5 separate regions of the Homo sapiens genome follow, and all the other regions are linked to region 1. Evidence: promoter capture Hi-C in 16 types of primary human blood cells and fetal thymus (Javierre and others, 2016). All regions are on one chromosome and are shown on one strand. The core of a region is centred on a gene start or on the middle of the fragment in contact, and the rest is flanking DNA. Distances in the headings are between cores, read along the strand shown. Region 1 holds the start of LIX1 (limb and CNS expressed 1). Region 2 has its middle 92 kb from the start of CHD1. Region 3 overlaps CHD1 (chromodomain helicase DNA binding protein 1). Region 4 overlaps CHD1 (chromodomain helicase DNA binding protein 1). Region 5 holds the start of GPR150 (G protein-coupled receptor 150).

Evidence for each region. Contacts are between HindIII fragments. The CHiCAGO score rates a contact against its expected background, and 5 or more counts as called.
Region 2: a fragment that was not itself captured here is called in contact with the fragment with the promoter of LIX1 in region 1 in 1 of 17 cell types (M1 macrophages); the score reaches 7.6 in M1 macrophages.
Region 3: a contact is called between a fragment that was not itself captured here and the fragment with the promoter of LIX1 in region 1, in 2 of 17 cell types (total B cells and M1 macrophages). The highest score is 10.2, in total B cells.
Region 4: a contact is called between a fragment that was not itself captured here and the fragment with the promoter of LIX1 in region 1, in 2 of 17 cell types (M2 macrophages and total B cells). The highest score is 6.8, in M2 macrophages.
Region 5: the fragment with the promoter of GPR150 here is called in contact with the fragment with the promoter of LIX1 in region 1 in 1 of 17 cell types (activated CD4 T cells); the score reaches 5.0 in activated CD4 T cells.

The regions. Positions count from the first base shown.
Region 1 is chr5:97,140,868-97,144,714 of GRCh38, reverse strand. LIX1 (limb and CNS expressed 1) reads left to right here and starts at 2,104. Exons shown (of 6, transcript NM_153234.5): 1 at 2,104-2,220. The coding sequence starts at 2,139. RefSeq lists an enhancer at 2,088-2,157. The HindIII fragment of the contact is 8,667 bases long and covers 1-3,517 here.
Region 2 is chr5:99,019,077-99,022,923 of GRCh38, reverse strand. No RefSeq gene overlaps it. Among named protein-coding and RNA genes, the nearest start is that of CHD1, 92 kb to the right of the region's middle. The HindIII fragment of the contact is 1,499 bases long and covers 1,392-2,890 here.
Region 3 is chr5:98,871,569-98,875,415 of GRCh38, reverse strand. It overlaps CHD1 (chromodomain helicase DNA binding protein 1), which reads left to right. Exons shown (of 36, transcript NM_001270.4): 25 at 303-344; 26 at 1,693-1,823; 27 at 2,861-2,999; 28 at 3,215-3,365. Among named protein-coding and RNA genes, the nearest start is that of CHD1-DT, 55 kb to the left of the region's middle. The HindIII fragment of the contact is 477 bases long and covers 1,393-1,869 here.
Region 4 is chr5:98,855,603-98,859,449 of GRCh38, reverse strand. CHD1 (chromodomain helicase DNA binding protein 1) reads left to right here. Exons shown (of 36, transcript NM_001270.4): 34 at 435-486; 35 at 1,060-1,270; 36 at 2,725-3,847. The coding sequence ends at 3,070. Among named protein-coding and RNA genes, the nearest start is that of CHD1-DT, 71 kb to the left of the region's middle. The HindIII fragment of the contact is 664 bases long and covers 1,602-2,265 here.
Region 5 is chr5:95,617,819-95,621,665 of GRCh38, reverse strand. It overlaps GPR150 (G protein-coupled receptor 150), which reads right to left and starts at 1,579. Exons shown (of 1, transcript NM_199243.3): 1 at 1-1,579. The coding sequence starts at 1,390. The coding sequence ends at 86. RefSeq lists silencers at 1-8, 229-678, 387-681, 699-748, 839-1,238 and enhancers at 1-211, 1,408-2,023. The HindIII fragment of the contact is 5,492 bases long and covers 1-3,847 here.

The sequences.
Region 1 (3,847 bases), core at 855-3,354:
CATTTTTATACAGTCTTTAAAGGTCTACTTTCAGTTCATCATAAAATACAACCTAGTTATGGAATCTGAAAATTGGAAGAAACACTGGAAAGCAATCTTTGTGGCTACCCTGGAAAAATATTTTAAATAAAAGTTTGACAATCCTCAACAACCTCCTTCAACAAGTAACATTGGTTACAACCACTAAAATTAGTTATTTTATATCTGGTATAAATCCTTATTATGGAAAAGGAATCCTGTGACTTATATTTATGTCTTCTATGGAAAGATTATTTAACAAAGTGTTACAGGTAGTATAGATCATGAATAGGTAGAAAAAGAATTTCTGTTTTCTTAAGATCTTTAAAGGCCAGGCATGGTGGCTCATGCCTGTAATTCTAGCACTTTGGTAGGCCGAGATGGGTGGATCACTTGAGGCCAGGAGTTTGAGACCACCCTGGGCAACATGGTGAAACCCCCTCTCTACTAAAAATACACAAATTAGCCAGGTGCGGTGGCGTGGGCCTGTGGTCCCAGCTACTAGAAAGCCTAAGGTGGGAGGACCGTTTGAGACTGAGAAGTCAAGGCTGCAGTGAGCCCGGATCATGCCATTGCACTCCAGCCTGCATGACAAAGTGAGACTCTGTCTCAAAAAAAAAAAAAAAAAAGGATACAGCTAGGGACTAAATTAAGCCTTGCATTTGAATTCAGGAGCCACTCTTCTGGAAGCCAAGGCTTGTTACCCCCCACAACCCTCCCAAATTTTAGTCACTTCTATTGGGCAGGGGCAAGTAAAACCTGACAGACTGTCTTACAGCTTGCCTGGGAACATTTGTTTCCCTATTTACCCTTCAAAGTGAATCATTCCCAAGGTTGACTTTAATTAATTCTGATGTAATTCACTTCCTTTCACTTAATAATTATTAAAAATTTCAGGGCAGGGTGCAGTGGCTCACGCCTGTAATCGCAGCACTTTGGGGGCCCAGACAGGATGATTGCTTGAGCCCAGGAGTTTGAGACCAGCCTGGGCAACACAGTGAGACCCCATCTCTACAGAAAATTTAAAAATTAGCCAGGCGTGGTGGCGTGTGCCTCCCAACTACTTGGGGTGCTGAGATGGGAAGATTGCTTGAGTCCAGGGCTCAAGCCCCTCACTTGAGTCAAGGCTGCGGTGAGTTATGATCACGCCACTGCACTCCAGCCTGGAGGACAGTATGAGACCCTATTAAAAAGAAAAATAAAACAAAGAAACAGGACGAGAAAATACATATATGTTTCTTAAGGTAGTTATTGAAAGATTTTTTTAAAAAATTGAGACAGGGTCTTACTTTGTCACCAAGGCTGGAGTGCAGTGGCACAATCTGGGCTCACTGCAGCCTCGACTTTCCAGGCTCAAACCATCCTCCTGCCTTAGCCCTCCAAGTAGCTGGGATCACAGGCATGCACCACCACACCCAGCTAATTTTTGTATTTTTTGTAGAGTTAGGGTTTCGCCATGTTGCCCAGGCTGGTCTGGAACTCTTGGGCTCAAGCGATCTGCCCGCCTCAGCCTCCCAAAGTGCTGGAATTACAGGCATGATAAACTGCACCCAGCCCCATAATCTTTATAGCACTCCTTTACCAAAGAAGAATTACACTGAAAATTTAGATTTATAGGGATTATACTGTTAACATATAGCTGGCAGTCCTGAGCTGGAAGCTGTCTTGTCATTCAGGAAATTTCCTGGAGAAATAACCTTCCTGATTCCATATTCCTGGGGGCAACACAATTGAAGATGGAGGGCCAGAAGAAATACTCAAGTCAGAAAGCTGCACAGCATTCAGACAAAATCTGGTTGGAGAGGAAAGCTGTTTTCATAATTTAGCGAGCTTCCCCAGCTAGCCTGTAGGTGGGTGTGTTTAACAGAAGAAAGCAATGGGAACCCGCCTGTCAGCCAGCCTTTCGAGCTAATTAGCTCAGCATACAACAAAGATAAGTGAGCCTGGGAAGAGGGCCCCCTGAGGGGTCTTTAGATTCTGGGAAATGTCTGATTGGCAGATGTTAAAAGGGATTCCTTGGTAATCCAGTGCATCAATGAGCTGCAGAAATTCAGCCCAGGACTGCAAGAATTCAGGCATGAGGACACTCTGTACAGGAGGCTCACACAGGCAGACCCAAGATGGACAGAACCTTGGAATCTCTGAGACACATCATTGCCCAAGTCTTGCCTCACAGAGATCCGGCTCTAGTCTTCAAAGACTGTAAGTACTGAAGGGGGAAAAGTTTTTTGACTTTTTAGAAAATAGTCCTAAACGTCAAGTCACATCCTATTTAAGTAAGATTTCTCCTAAATCTCTGCAGTCGTATGCTGTGTTCTAAGTGATATTTTAACTTGTTCCTGACTTCAGCCAGAAGAACGATTTCATTTCACCTACAGGCATTAGGCACTGGGTTATTCTGTCAGTGATACATCTTGCTAACTACTTAGAAGTCTCTTCTACAATCCAAGACCTGCCTAAGACTTAATGAACTTTTTCTGATGCTTTTTAAGTAAAGCAAAGCTGACTGGTGTTGAGATTAAACCTAAAAATAATTTGGAAATGATACTAGAATATATCAATATTTGTTAACCTGTTTAATACTCCACAACACATATTAGCTATGTTAATTCAAGTATCGTGTTTGTCTGAAAATATTTGTTGCAAACCAGAATTAACAGTAAATCACCACTGAACTTTTAAATTTTGATAACAGATTATAATGCTTTAGTTAAAAGGCCAATAAAATGAGATGCCTCCTAACCTCAGCAACACTCCCTGTGTGGACCCCCTACCACCATCACCAATTTATACAGCATGGCAAAGTTATTTCAAAATCTTTTTTTTAATGATTTAAAAATAATTCAATCAAGATTTCCAATTCTAGCAATACTATTAAACCATTTGTCATATAACTTCGTTTCTGGAACCAATTTGATTTCCTGCTGCTGCAAAACAGACTATCTTCATGTTGTATCTTATCTACAGTGGGTTTCATATTACAAAGGGCTTCTGAAATAGAACTGCCCAAAAGGTAAAATGCATATGGAATTTTTTTTAACTTCAATAGGTTGCAGCTTTCCTCTTTGTGAATCTAGTTGTGTTTGTCTCCATCAAAACATCAATGGTTTGAATTTTTGCTTTCTGATTGCTGAATAACGTTCCATTCCAGATGTCCTCTTAGCTTAGATTTCTCATATGTATGTTGAAGAAAGAGGAATGTTAGGCCATTTAATTCTATAAATTTTTCCTCTTAGATGTTAAATTGTAACCAATCTGTCCTTTAAGGCATAAAGTGAAAGCCTTTTCTTTCTCTAGCTCTCTTTTTAAATATTGTCTTTAGGCATTTGCCAATAACTATGTTAGATCTAATAAAAATCACTCTCTCCACTACTCTAGCCTGGAGTCTATTCAGGTTTGTTATGTTTTTTAAGCGAAAAGGGGAGGAAAGAATGTCTCTCTCCTACAATAGAACTGATTCACTAGTGAGGGATAAAAGGGCTCTCGGGCTGCCCAAGCTTTGGATAAATTGTATAGGACCAGGGTTCTTATGCTGAGCATTTAAATAGGGGAAGCAGTTAAAAAAAAAATAGGGGGGACGTTTTTCACTGGCCCATTGAAAACTTAATAAGTTCAAATGTGAAACTGTATAGCTCATTTTTTAGCTGAACTAAATTGCTGCGATTGTTTACAGTTTAGAAAAGAAGATAGACTAGAAAAAGGATTACAATAAAGCATACATTAAGTTCTGTCATCCAGGACTTTGCAGGACTTCTTTTATATGGGAGAACAAATAAGTGTCCTGTTTTATATATTTCATTCATTAACATAGAACCTATATTTGACCAGA
Region 2 (3,847 bases), core at 892-3,391, 1.9 Mb before region 1:
AGTGAATATGAAAGAAAGATATGTTAACATAGTTCATGAGTAACAAATTTAAGGCTCTTCTGGTCACCCATCCTCCTGGAATTTATCGGGTTATATCCACAAACTTAATACAACATTGAATAACTTTATGTCTCTGGCACAAACATGCCAGAGTAACATTTTGAGAATCTTGAGGATGACTCTGGTTGTGAATCTAATTTTAGCAATAACCTTGGCCCTGACCTTCTAGAAAGCAAATACCTTCTATATATTCAGGTACAGAAAGCATCACATTCCTTTATTTCCTTATATCAAATTAAATTTGGAGTTATGCCCACACTCACTATGGAATTAAAAACAGCAGATATTAGTTATCATGGGGAGGCAAGAGAGAAGGGTCTCCCTGGGGTGGATGAATGCTGCCCTGATAACTTGGAGAAGGACTCTAGTCTGTGCTTTATCATCTTCTAAACCTGTGATGTTCATAGAAGACCAGCAGCCCATTTCCTTCATGGCAATTATGAGCACTGGAAGCTTTCACCATGATTCTCAAAGCTACAGCATCCATGCACTTTCTGGAAGAGTCCTTCCTCCTACACCCTTGGCTCCACAAGGGGTAATGTGCACCCTCAGTCACCACACCACTGGGAAGCTACCTGGTGGAGATAAGCCACATTTATCTGTTCAACTCCAAAATCCAGTTTTGGTGCTTTCTTCCTCTGAGATAATCCAGTTTACTTTTCTCCTGTCTAACCAGACGCGGAAAGAGAAGTTCTAACTCAGGCCTTTAAAAACAAATTGCTGGCCACTCCTCTCTTGTTTGGGGAAAGGAGATGCTTTACTCTTCCCTTTTCAATTCACAGTGGGGAAAAAAACACCACTTTAGATTTTATTTTCTTAATAACATTTAGTATGCTACTTAAGAGGGAAAGTTCTGCAAATCCTGCTATTTAAGAGTAGATTAGAAAGCCAGGTGTGGTGCCTCATGCCTGTAATCCCAGCACTTTGGGAGGCTGAGGAGGGAGGATCATTTGGGCTAGGAGTGAGCAGCCTGGGCAACATAGCAAGACCTCATCTCTACTAAAAAATAAAAGAAATAGTTTTTAAATAAAGGGTGATTAGATCTACTCTAGATTGAACCATATAAGAGATTTGCTCCTAGATTAACCAGGCCAACCTAGAGAATAATTAAATTGCCATAAATGAACCCAACTATTAAAACGTCTCTGAGACTTTTTTCTACACAATTACTTATAGAAATACATCTGGTCTGGATCTGAGTCCCACCATCATAGGGTATTAGCCATGTACTAATCTCTTCCATGCTGACCTGCCATTTAACCCATTTTCTCCATGAATTTGAAATTATCTCTTTGGAGTACAAAGAGAGTTATATTTATTATCCTCAAGCTTTCAGTTGAAGGGAAGGATGGAGGAGGTGAGGGAGGACAGTTAGATTCAGGTTCAATTAAAATTTGAAAGCAGATATGAAAGTTAGACTAAATCATCATTCATACAGATTTACCTTCTTCCCCTACTGACAGACAGCCAAATAAATATGTATCTGAATACGTCTTCCTTTCTTGTAATAAACTTAGCTACAGGGAAATAATTACCATTGCAAAGAATAGAGATATATGAAGCAGTTTTCCTGCTTATATAAGATCTCAGCAATTAATCACAATCAGAAAATTTGCTTATTGTATTTTTCTCTCAATATTTTGTAACTTGTCTAATAAATCTGAAATGTTTAGCAGAGTGTCGTGCCATGCACCTGTAATCCCACCTATCTGGGGGGCTGAGGAGGAAGGATTGCTTGAGACCAGGAGTTCGAATACAGTTTTGACAACATAGCAAGACCCTGTTTCTAAACACTTAATAATAATACTCTGAAATTTTTTAGACAAAAATAAGGTATTTCCAGTCACTAAAAATATATAAAGTACTACATCTAAATGAGATTTAGTTATAAAACTAGTTGACTTTCCAAAGTCCCCTTCCTGTGACTGCTTCAGAGATGAATGCAGAGAGCAGGAATCCTGATTATTTCATGTGGGAGAAGGGTCAAGCCTCTATAAAAGCTCTGTACCTTGCCCTGTCAAGTGTGTGCTTGCCTCCAGAATTCAAACTTTGGAAATATAATTAAGTAATTAGGTTGGATTTGCACTGATAGAGTTTTTGTTTTGTCTTTGTTTTTCTTTATAGAAACAGGGTCTCATTCTGTCATGCAGACTGGAGTGGAGTGGCATGATCATAGCTCACTGCTGCCTGGAACTCCTGGGCTCAAGTGATCCTCTCACCTCAGCCTCCCAAGTAGCTGTGACTACAGGCAGGTGCCACCATGCCTGGCCCCTGACAGAAACTTTAAGAAGGCATTTAGTATTATGATGAGAGGCTTTTGCACTGATTTCATGCAAAATGGCAACAGATAATTTGTACAGAGTACAGTTTTCCAGAAATAAAGTTGTTCTTAAATGAGAATGATGTCATACTAAAGCCATATATCAAGGATAAGTGCCCAACATGTGGTCTGTGAAAAGGAAGCTCATTATAGGTTTTATGTGATGAGTCACCACAGTTACAGTCACTGGACAATGTCTTCAGTGTAAATTTTGAATAGACTTTCCAGTTCATGGAAATTTTTGGCACCTTTTATACATAAAACGTTGCAGATTTCTCCATGACCCAGTTTTTTGTTGTTGTGTTGTTTTGTTTTGTATGGATTCAGCCCAGAACTTCTAGAGAGAGCAGGGCTTCCCTCCACCATTCCATGCTGCTGCTTCCTGTGTTCTTTCTCTGTCTTTTTGACACCATTTGCTTTCTACCTCCCATGTATTCCTCATATCTTACCTGTTTAAAAGTGAAGTTAACGTTTTCATTACCAAAAACAAACAAAACCAAAGATAAAGCTTTCCAGTTACTTCAGTGAGAGCTTGCCAAGAGAGTAAGGGAGTTGCACGAGTTCAGTCCTACTTCTTGAACATTTTCAGTGGCTCTTCATCACCTACCTGTATTTTTTAAAATTAATTTCCTCAGCCTAGTATTCAAAGTTCTTTATGCCCCACCCTAGTAGCTCACTCTAAACTTAATCCTATTACTCTCAAATCATTGCTATATAAGAAGTTTCTGGCCAGGTGCAGTGGTTCATGCCTATAATCCCAGCACTTTGGGAAGCCAAGGCACGCTGTTCACTTCAGGCCAGGAGTTTTGAGACCAGCCTGGCCAAGATAATAAAATCCCATCTCTAAAAAAAAAAAAAAGTAAAAATAAAATATTATGGGTTCAATTGTATCCTGCAATAAACGTACGTTGAAGTCCTAACCCCTAATACCTCAGAATCTTCCCATGTTTGGAAATAGAGTTTTCACAGAGGTAACCAAGTTAAAATGAGGTCATTAAGGTGGAAATTTGGACACAGAGACAGACACGAACAGAAGGAAGATGATGTAAAGGCAGGGAGAACATCATGTGAAGAAGGAGGATTGAAGTGACGCATCTGCAAGCAAAGGAATGCCACAGATTGCCAGCAAACCCAGAAGCTAGGAAGAGGCAAGGAAGGATTCTTCTGAAGCTTTCGGAGGAAGCATGGCCCGGCCAACACCTTGATTTCTGATTTCTAAACTGTGAGATAATACTTTTCTACTGTTTTAAGCCACCTAGCTCTCCAGTATTTTTTGTTGTTACAGCAAACTTAGGAAACTAATACAACTGCCACATTTTAAGCTTCTGTTGATATTATTTCTTCTGCTTCTATTTCTCCCCTTTTTGCTCTTTAAAAAAAATTCTATTCATTTTTAGAAGCCCAGTCACATCTTACTTTCCTCTGTTGCCACTGTCTCTTTTAAAAACTGGGCCAGGCACGGTGGCT
Region 3 (3,847 bases), core at 382-2,881, 1.7 Mb before region 1:
TCAGACCTTCTTTTGGTCTTATGAAAATAATGAAGTAATTTTTAAAACAAAATTTAGCTTCTATTGTTTTATTTATACTGATATCTAAACATCATCTTGGATGTTAATTTACCTTGTCTTACCTGGTGTATCTTAATGTTTTAACATTTTTGTTTTTAGCATAGTTTATTCATTCTTCTTAGATAACAGTGCCTTGAATTTTTATACTAACAAGTATTTTCTTATATCTGTAAATATCAGAAATACGTATAATTTTAGTGAATACTGAAGCTCACATTTACCAAACAATTATTTTCTCTTAGGTTTATCAAGAGCTATAAGAAATTTGGTGGTCCTCTGGAAAGGTAAATACGTTTATTATTCTCATAGAATAATGGAATGTGTTACATGCTGTCACCTTTATTTATTTGTATTAACATTCAGTTTAGCTACTTTGTTAAATTTGCTTTTAATCGGCATTTACAAAATTAATGTACAAGGGAAATTTCAGATTGTTTTTAAAAATGTTTTTATACTGTGTTTAATTTCCAGTCTCAAATTTCTTTCCTGTAAATTATCTATACATGTTTAAATTGCACTTTTATGACGGTAAGGCACTTTTTACAATCTTTATCTCATTTTTCATCAATAACTTAAAAGTAGCACGAGCAGATTTATCCATAGAGGGGCTGAGTTGCTAACCCAGCCTTTTTTTTTTTTCTTTTTAAATGGAGTCTCTCACTGTCTCCCAGGCTGGAGTGCAGTGGCGCGATCTTGGCTCACTGTAACCTCCACCTCATGGGTTCATGTGATCCTCCTGCTTCAGCCTCTCGAGCAGCTGGGACTACAGGCGCATGCCACCACACCCAGCTAATTTTTTTTTTTTTTTTTTTTTTTTTAGTAGAGACGGGGTTTCACCATATTGGCCAGGTTGGTCTAGAACTCCTGAATTCAGGTGATCCGCCTGCCTCAGCCTCCCAAAGGCTAACCCAGCCTTTTAACCAGCTCTGCTTTCCCTAAGTAGAGATATTTTCTTAAGTTTCTCAAATTCATTCTCTTATTATACAAACTGTATTAAAATTCAAATTAAGATAGTTTTTTTGAAGTTATCAGATAATCTCAGTAATTATTGTGATTTGGATATTCTTTGCCCTTTGTTGTGGCCAACCCACTGTCTGAATATAGATCAGCAAAGACTCAAATTAGTTTATTTTTTTACTCTTAAAAAATCCCTTCAAAAATAGATATATTTTGTTTTATTTTGAGATGGCATACTTAAAATATAATGAAATACTTGCATAATTATTTTAGATGAAAAAATGTCTTGAGTATTAATCATTCATATCTATTTGGTGCACAGTAATAAAAAGTTACAGAACTTTACTCAGCTTTTGTGTTTACAATTATAAAGCTTTACCACTTCATTCTGAACATCTTAAAATTTGATCAGTTATTAAAAGGTTTTACAGAATTGGTATATAATCTTCCATTTGCTCTATAATGAATTAAACTCATTATTATTGAATATATAAATGAATTGTTTGTCTACCACATTGTCCTGGTTTTTATGTGTTTCCTGCCATTTATGTGAACAAGAATATATAGAGCATGCAGTAGAGTGATATTCAGATCTTGAAATAGAGTGAAACTTAATCTTAAATGGCACCACTTCATTTAACATATTTACCTGAAAATTGGATTATTTTGTTACAGATTAGATGCAATTGCTCGAGATGCTGAGTTAGTTGATAAGTCAGAAACAGACCTTAGACGACTGGGAGAATTGGTACATAATGGTTGCATTAAAGCATTAAAGGATAGTTCTTCAGGAACAGAACGAACAGGTAACATTAAACTGAGAGTGATTTAAAAGAGAAGTAAATGAAAGCTTCAAAATATGCTTTATTGAGCTAGATATTATATCTTAAATTATTTATTCATCAGTCTCAAAAGGTTATTTATAAAACAAAGTAAAGCTATTCTGGGTAATAGGAAATGGAGAACAGAATTGCAATTCGAAGGCAGTAGAATCTGTTTTTAATTCCCCTGACATTTTCTGTCTGGGAGGTAAGGTCAGAAATTACTGTTTTATACACACACATATGTACATTCATAGATATATGTGTATATATACACACACACAGTACAATATGTATAGTATCTATAGGTTTTTTAGTATAGATGACTGGGAAAATATAATGCAAATATACACATATGATATTGGTTTGGGACATAATTATTTTATTATTATGCTTATTTTGCTGTTCATTTACCTGAATAAAAATTATTTAGATAAAATTTAATAAGCAGACCAGGCATAGTGGCTCACACCTGTAATCCTAGCACTTTTGGAGGCTGAGATGGGAGTTTAGCTTGAACCCAGGAGTTTGAGACCAGCCTGGGCAACATTGTGAGACCCTGTCTCTAAGAAAAATGAAAACATAAAAATTAGCAGGGTGTGATTGTGCGTGCTTGTAGTCTCAGTTACTTGTGAATTGAGGTGGGAGGGTTGCTTGAGCCCAGGAGGTCAAGACTGCAGTGAGCAATGATTGCACCACTGCACTTCCAGCCTGGGCGACAGAGTGAACCCTGAGTCATCATCCTATAATTCTTTATTTAGAGGCTGACGGTATTAGTAGATTGATCCATCTTATGTAATTGGTAAAACACTTAGAGAAATACTTTTCGTGAATTTGCATCTGCAAGATTATTATCACTTGTTCATATGTAATGAAGTTCAAGGTTTTCCAGTAATCTCTTAATAATATAAATAAGGAATACTTATTGTTAAATAACATAAGTAATAGCATCAGTTGCTTGGTGTTTTGTAGAATTATGTTTTATACTTTTAAAAATACTGGTTTTTTTAAAAAAAATCAAGGTGGTAGACTCGGAAAAGTGAAGGGTCCAACATTCCGAATATCAGGAGTACAGGTGAATGCCAAACTAGTCATCTCCCATGAAGAAGAATTAATACCTTTGCACAAATCCATTCCTTCTGATCCAGAAGAAAGAAAGCAGTGAGTGATTTATTTTCTCCATTGTAAGATTTTTGTTATTCAATAATTGCAAAATGAATGTGCTGAATTTTTATGGTGTTATTGGCTAGTTTTGAAAAAAAAAAGGAAGAAATAAAGCATATTATTTTGAAGTTCTAATGACTCACGTTTTTCAAAATTAATTTTTCAGTTAAGGCAATTACAAACTTATCATTAGTTATTAACTTTGATGCCAGGTATACTATCCCATGCCACACAAAGGCAGCTCATTTTGATATAGACTGGGGCAAAGAAGATGATTCCAATTTGTTAATTGGCATCTATGAATATGGATATGGAAGCTGGGAAATGATTAAAATGGATCCTGACCTCAGTCTAACACACAAGGTATTTATCTATTTCTGATTCTGTTAACCATTCATGTTGAATTTAATTTATTCTAATTCTTGCTTTTAAATTATGTTGGAAATAATGGAAATCTGGAAACCAAGGCACTAGCTGGTTGTGTGACCTTGGTGCGTTTAGAAGATGCTTTGCATGAAAGGATCAAATTTAAATGATTTCTGAGATTTTGCGTTACTGTGAAATTATATGTTATTAAGGCATTAGGTGTATTATTTTTCAAATTACGAGGTTAAAAGTCTTATTCCATCATTAGCTTTAAAAAAATTTTTGATGCATAATAGATGTACATATTTTTGGATGCATGTGATAATTTGATACAATCATATAATATATAAAGATGCAATCAGGGTAACTGGAACATTTATCACCTTAAATATTTATCTTTAGGAACATTTAAGTGATTCTTTTCTAGCTATTTTATAATGTATAGATTATTGCTAACTGTAGTCACCCTACTCACCTAT
Region 4 (3,847 bases), core at 684-3,183, 1.7 Mb before region 1:
GTGTAATATGGGCTTCCAAATCGAATCCCCGAGCAGATAAAGAACATTAGTGGAAAAATGTGAAATCTGAATGAAGTCTGTTCTTCAATTAATAGTGTTATACCAATGTTAATTATTTGGTTTTGATCATTATACTATGTTTGTATAAGATATTAACATTAGGAGAAGCTAGATGAAGGGAACTCAGTATTTTTGCAACCTTTCTGTTAAGTCAATTTATTTCAAAATGAAAAAATATCTTTAAGTCATGGGACAAGTAGTTCATGCTTTAAAAATGGAGATCTATAAATGTCATACATGTATATATACACACATAAACATTCTAATATCTTGTGTGAAGACTTCATTATCAGTATTTTCTAAGAATTATCTGTGCTTTTTTGTAAGTTTGTGAAGTCACCTAAAGATTCTTAACACGTGTGCATTTATTTTAGCAAAACAGTGATCAAAACAGCAACTTGAATCCTCACGTGATTAGAAATCCAGGTATGTAAGCCTTACTGATTGGGAAAATAAATTAAAAAAAATTTTTTTTAAATTTTTGTTTTAAATAAACCAAATGATAAAAAAGGTTCTTACCTTGTTTTTATTTATAAGTACCTTTATATTAAGGAGATACAGTAATTCTGATACATACCTACATTATTATGTAAAATGTATTCTCTTAAACTGTAGTTCATTTTAGTTTATTATCCTTTTAATCATCCTTTTCTCAGTTTCTAGAAATTGTAGAATGACTGTTAAAATGAACAAATATTCTTTTTTATGTAATTTGGAATAGTAATGCATTCTTTCTGTATCAGAGTCACAAAAGTATAGTCTGAGAAAGGAATAGGTCCCATATTTTTTAGTTTTTGTGACATTTCAGAATCAAGCAACCTTTTTTAATTAATCCTTAGTACTGCTTTTATACACCATTTCTAAATGCTTTAACTGCTTGTATTTGGGAACCGATTTTGTTTTGGCAAGGGTTGAAACGAATTCTTGTTATCTATCAACTAAGTTTTTTTTGCCACATTATTTTTAAGGTCATTAATAAAAGTTGTACTTATCTAACAGATGTGGAAAGATTAAAAGAGAATACAAATCACGATGATAGCAGCAGGGACAGTTATTCCTCTGATAGACACTTAACTCAGTACCATGATCATCATAAAGACCGACATCAGGGAGATTCTTACAAAAAAAGTGATTCCAGGAAAAGACCCTATTCTTCTTTTAGTAATGGTAAAGACCATCGTGATTGGGATCACTACAAGCAAGACAGCAGGTAAACTTGGCAGTCACTTTAGAAATTTTGCTTATGCATGTTTTTCTCCTTATCATGATGTTCCTGTATTTGACCTGTCAGCCAATTCAATCTTCATGCAGTCAAAACAAATCTTGTGAAATAAAGGTGTTGTATATAATTAAGAAAAATGTATATATTTTAAGAACTGAATTTCTCTATAAAATGGATTTTGAATTATAAAATTGAGATCAAAATATGTAGTAAGGTGATGTAGGGAGTTGTATGATTATAAATTGCGTGGGGTTCATTGTTCGTTTTGAAGAATATTGGCTCAAATACTCTTTAAAATATAATAAGTGGGATAAAAGCTTGATATAATAGTGATTCAGGTTTGGTTTAGGAAATTTTGCATTCCATATTTTTAAAAAGTCGGGAAAAATTAATATATGTGAACACATCTCATTGAGGTAAAACTTAACCTCAGCAATCTGGAATATTATTGGAACCAGGAAGGTTTTTTGTTTATTGTTTTTTGAAGCCTTTGAACAGTAAGCAACCTCAGTGTAATAACATCAGAATACTTTTTATTCCTTTATTGATAAAGAAGTATTTTCGGTAGTTAATGATCACTACTAAAAGTAAACTTGAAAACTGAGATTTATAGTATTTATGCTTTTATAGTAAGTAGAAGAAACAAATTAGAAGACATCTTTGTATTTTAGTGTTCATTACAATAATTTCTTTGAGAACCTCTGTCAGCACTATGAACACATCAGTTGTAGAATGGCTGTTATTTGAAGGGGTCAAATAATTAAAAGGAAAAGGCAGATTTATAGTATATATTTCACAGGCTTATGCAATATAGTTACAGTTGTGTGTGTGTCAGTTTGGAAAAGGCACTCATTTTAGAGAATAATTCTCATTAAACTGCCACATTTATTTTTTATCAAGCTGTCACATGTTTGTATGGAGTAAATTTCGTAATGATTCATGTGTCGAGTCTTACTATATAACTAGTCAAACTTGAGGAAGCTTTTAATAGGCATCAGCAACCAGTGAAAAATTTTTCAGCATAGACTGCATTCTAGCATTTTTAAACTTTTTCCTGCTTAGAGGTTGGTAAAAGGCTCTGGTCTCAGGAGTATTTCAGATAGTTGTAATAATCTTAATTTCAGCTTCCAGACAATTAAGATGCAGTCATATAAATGATGTGTAAAATAAAAAGCAGCTAATTATCTAAAATAGCCATGTGAAATTAGATGCTATTTTAGGGGTTTTGTATGGTTCGCTTTAGTTTTATGAATCAAATAGTTTTTCCAAAGAGATATATCCAGTGATTTTTGAGTTAATTAAGTAAGTTTTATAATGCAACACTGAATTTCTATACAATTAAAAACATGTTTTAAGGTATTTTTATGTTTTTTAGTTATCTTTTATTTGGAAACATTTTAATTTGCATGATTTGTCTAAAATTCTCAATTTTTCTTTATTAGATATTACAGTGACAGAGAGAAACACAGAAAACTGGATGATCACAGGAGTAGAGATCACAGGTCAAATTTGGAAGGAAGTTTAAAAGATAGATCTCATTCTGATCATCGTTCTCACTCAGATCATCGGTTACATTCAGACCACCGGTCAAGTTCTGAATATACGCACCATAAATCTTCCAGGGATTATAGGTATCACTCAGACTGGCAAATGGACCACAGAGCTTCCAGCAGTGGCCCTAGGTCACCACTAGATCAGAGATCTCCTTATGGCTCCAGATCTCCATTTGAACATTCAGTTGAACACAAAAGTACACCGGAGCATACCTGGAGTAGTCGGAAAACATAACAAAAACTGATACTTCGTCTTTCTGGACTTTTCTTTTAGCCATATATCATAAACCAACACAGTAATTGCCTTACATGACTTGAAAGATATAAACAGATCTTCTATCAGTAGCAGTATTGTTACTTCTTTCCAGGATGCAAGGTCTATTATCCCAACAGAAGAGAAAATATTTTTATATTTAAGGATTATGCTGCACTGTACTACAAAATTGTAGTACTTTTTTTTGTTTTCTTTTTTAAAGAAATGGAAAATGTTTACTATTACAGGGACCTCAACACTGCCCTCCCATACAGGCTGGATAAAACTGTTTTTAAGTCAGTGATTTTAGACTGACCTCCATTTAAATTATGTTTATATATGAACTTTACTCTGACCTGTGATCATGTTTCAGGAAGGAATGAAAGAGAGTTCTTTCTTAATAAAGAAAAACACTCAAGGACTTTGTTCATTTCCAAAGCTACTTGTTTACATTGTACACTGCGACCACCTTGCCGCTTTTCATCACAAGCTTGAATATTTAAATTCTGTACTTATATCTGTAAAATAGCCAGGAATTTCCTGTTTGTGATCTATTATGCCTTTTTACAAAAAAAATGGCTGTAAATTATTGTAAATATTAAAGGAACTTTCCTTACTTCCTTCCCTTTCTCAGGCTTTTTTTGACTGTTCCTTTCCCTACCAACTCAGGCCTTCTTATTAAAAAAAAAAAAATCAGTGTAATAACACTTTTTAATGATTTGTCTTGATGGAATCATTGTTTAGAATGTAAAAATGGGG
Region 5 (3,847 bases), core at 330-2,829, 1.5 Mb after region 1:
GTGATCTGGACAGACCCTGGCAGGCCTCGAGTTCCCTGGAGGTTGCGCCTTAGCGACAGATGACCCGTCTCTGACCACCAAGCACCTAGAAGGCACTTTCGCAGGAGCAAGGCAGGGGTCTGGGGCGCGGAGGGGGTGGGCGCAAGCCGCCCTCGTCCAGCGGTTCCCGCCGAGCATGGTGATAATGAGGGTGGGGCCAGCGTTGGCGGTAGAGCGCCTGGTGGCCCCGGGGCCCCTCCTCGTCCTCCGCGCCTCCCTGCGGCGCGCAGCACAGAGAGCCCAGCCGCTTCCGCAGCTGTCGCCGGAGCCGGCAGTCGCCCGCCTGGAAGAAGAGGTAGACGAAGGGATTGAGAGCGCTGTTGGCCATCGCCACCACGCGCAGCGCCGCCGACAGGCCCTCTCCCTCCCAGTCTCCCGCGGGCCCGGACGACCACGCGGCCGCCAGCCGGGCGGCAAAGTAGGGCAGCTCGCAGCCCACGAACAGCAGCGCCAGCAGCAGGCTCATCTTCAGGCTCTGCACCTTGGCGCGGGGCAGCGCGCTGGGCGCAGGGGCTCGACCTGGGCTCGCCGACCAGGGCGCTGCAGCCGCGGGGGCCTGCGGCCGGTGCCGCCACCAGACGGAGAGTAGGTGGCCGCAAGCGACGCCCAGGACCGTAACAGGCGCGACGAAGCCCGCGACGGCCTCGTAGAACGCGTAGACCTGCAGGTGCCAGCGCGGCAGGGGCGCGAAGATCCCGTGGCAGCGACGCTCCCCCGGCCAGGCGCGGGCGGCCGGGGGCGCGCCTGGCTGCAGGGACGTTGGCGGCGGCGGCGGCGGCAGCGGCGAGGGGGAGTCCCCGCGCACCACGAAGGCCGGGGGCAGCGCCAGCAGCAGTGCCAGCAGCCAGCCCAGGGCGGCGAGGGCACGCGCGGGCAGCGGCCGGCCGTGCGGAAGACGCACCGCGCGCCGGCGCTCGAGGGCGATGAGCACCACGAGGTGGGCCGAGGCGCCCCGCCCGGATGCCTGCAGCAGCTGCAGGAAGCGGCACGCCAGGTCCCCCGTGGCCGCGCGGGGCTCGCCCAGCAGTTCCCAGGCCAGCTGTGACAGCGCCGTGCCCCCGCACGCGTACAGGTCCGCCAGGGCCAGCTGCACCAGCAGGAAGTCCATCTTGCGACGCTTGGGGCCCGCCCAGGGCCCGCCGCCGCCGCACAGGCGGCACAGCACTGTGGTGTTGCCTGCCACCGCCACCACCAGGATGACCCCCAGGAACACCAGGCGGACGCGGCGGCTGGGCGGCCCAGAGGCAGGGGCTCCTTGCCCCAAGGTCAGGTTGAGACCCCAGCCCAGCAAGATGGGCACGGAAATGTTGGGCGCCGGCGGCAGAATTGAGGGGCTAAAGAGATCCTCCATCCTTGTCCCGGAGGAAGAGGAGGCACCGAAGAGGGCGGGCAGGACGCGGGAAACCAAAGTGGAGGCGAGGCGGCGCGGGGAGCGACGCTGGGTCTATACGAGTTCCCAAAGTTAGTTGAAAAGGCACACGCACAGAGAGGGAGATGGATTCGGGCGGCTTTGCGCTTAGTTGTTTTTGTCGATTGTCCTCGTGATTTGTCACTCAAATGTGGGTTGTACACTCGAGGAACACACATGATTCCTATTCTCCACCTTCCCCGCGTCTTCCCTCCCATTCCCGGCGGGTACTCTTCCAATCTCTGCAGCGGCCCCCGACGCTACCCTCGCGGAAGCCGCGGACCCCTGGGCGCTGAGAACCTCATCCATTCTCTATTTACGTGTAAAGCACAGCAGGACAGAATGTCGCTTTGCTTGGCCATTGTATACGGCCAGTGTTATGCCAGCACCCACACAAGAGAGGACCTCTTGACTGAGATTGTACCACACGCCCCCACCACCCCAATGTGATTGCCAGTAGGAAAAAAATAGAAAAGACATTAGTTTTTATTTTAAAGGTTTGAAATGCCATGGATCTGCACGAGCATGAGAAAAACAGGAACACAAGAAACCTAACAGCGTTTTGAGCAAAGAGGAGACCTATTAGCTGAATTTTGATCAAGATGTGTCTTCTCTGTCCAAGAATGAAAGTATTTTAATTAGAGGGTACTAAAGTCAATGATGTTGCTTTTAGGAGTGGCAGTGTTGCAGATCGTTCCAAATACTAGGAGCAGTGGGTCACAGCTGCTTTCTTGGTGATGTAAAATTCATTTCATTAGTCTGAAGAGGGCATTAATAGGTTTTATGCAAATGGTAGTGCATTTATTGCTTTTCTCCTAATATTTTCATCCAGTGAAGGATGCGTCATCACACTCCTCATTCTCTTGATTCTGTTTTCCAGCAGATGGGAAGTTGCTAGGAGGGGCTACGCCTCCAATAAGCCTAGAGAAAAGGTGACTAAGAAAGTGATAAGGCGGCCAATTTTTTTAAAAAAGAAATCCAAGTCACAGGAAATGGTTTAGATTAAATGTTGCTGCTTTCATTTTAGCCTTGTCTCCTCACAAACACATTTTAGTTTCCCTGTTGGAAGCATCCATTTGTCTTTTTATGCACCCTCCACGTTAATCATGGTGAAAGTAGAATTTCCTGTACTTCCTGGCCTGGGGGCCAGGGAGGTATGAGTGTTGTCTAGGGTTCACATTCCCAATCTGAGGAAACATTTGGAACTTTAAGATTCATGGCCTAGGAAGATTTGGTGGGTTCCATGATAGTCCTGCCAGCTGCTGTAGGAATCCCATTTCCCAAGCTGTTGTCCTTTGGCCAGAAACCTTGGTTATTTTCATCATCATCTCTGTGGTGCCTCGCTCTGGTCTGACAGGTTGTAGTTATCAGTGGGTATGTGTTGAGTTGATGAATTAGTGGATATACGATGCTTTTCAGATACCTTCGAGCATAAATGCCTGCCTTGACTATAAATCCATCACCTAAGAAAAAATTCCTTTTATACTATGCCAGTATTGTCCAGAGGAGCCCAAGGAAGCTCTGTGGAGACATAGGAATAAGTGTTCCTGGTGGGACATTTAAGAAAGCTAGAGTGATAGCCTTGGAAAATCTAAAATCCTGGTTTGATTTTCATACTCTCCCTTTAGAACTTTTTATCCAAGGCCTTTTTCTATGCACACACATCATCCCAGTTTATAATGCACTTCTTCCAGGGAGCCTTCTCTGAGCAATGTTCATCATTCAGTGATTTTCCTAGCCAGTATCATTTCAGTGTTTCTCAAGATAGTCTATCATTTGTCTCAAATTTGTTGAAATGCTCTTATATATTAGCATTTCAAAATGACTATAGTGAAATTTCACAGAACTTTAGTAAGATCTGATAAAACATTGATTTTCAACAAATTCTTTTTTTTTTTTTTTTTTCCCTTTTTGAGACAGGGTCTCACTCTGTTGCCCAGGCTGGAGTGAAGTGGCATGATCATAGCTCACTGCAGCCTCGACTTCCTGGGCTCAGGTGATTCTCTCACCTCAGCCTCCCAACTAGCTGGGACTGTAGGCAGACACCACCACACCCAGCTAAGTTTTGTATTTTTTGTAGAGGCTAAGTTTCGCCATGTTGCCCAGGCTAGTTTTAAACTCCTGGGCTCAAGAATCTGCCCACCTTGGCCTCCCAAAGTGTTGGGATTACAGGCATGAGCCACTGGGCCTGGCCTAAACTAATTCTTATTAAAATTATACAATGCACATAGTTTTGAAAGTCAAATGGAACTAGAAGGCTGATAACATAAAGAGTTCCCTGTCCTATACATCTCCACTTCTTTATCCCCTCTTTCTAGAGGGAACCAATTTAGACTCTATTTGCTCTTTCTTCTGGCATTGACTTAATTCATAATAGTAAATAATATATATGTAATGCTA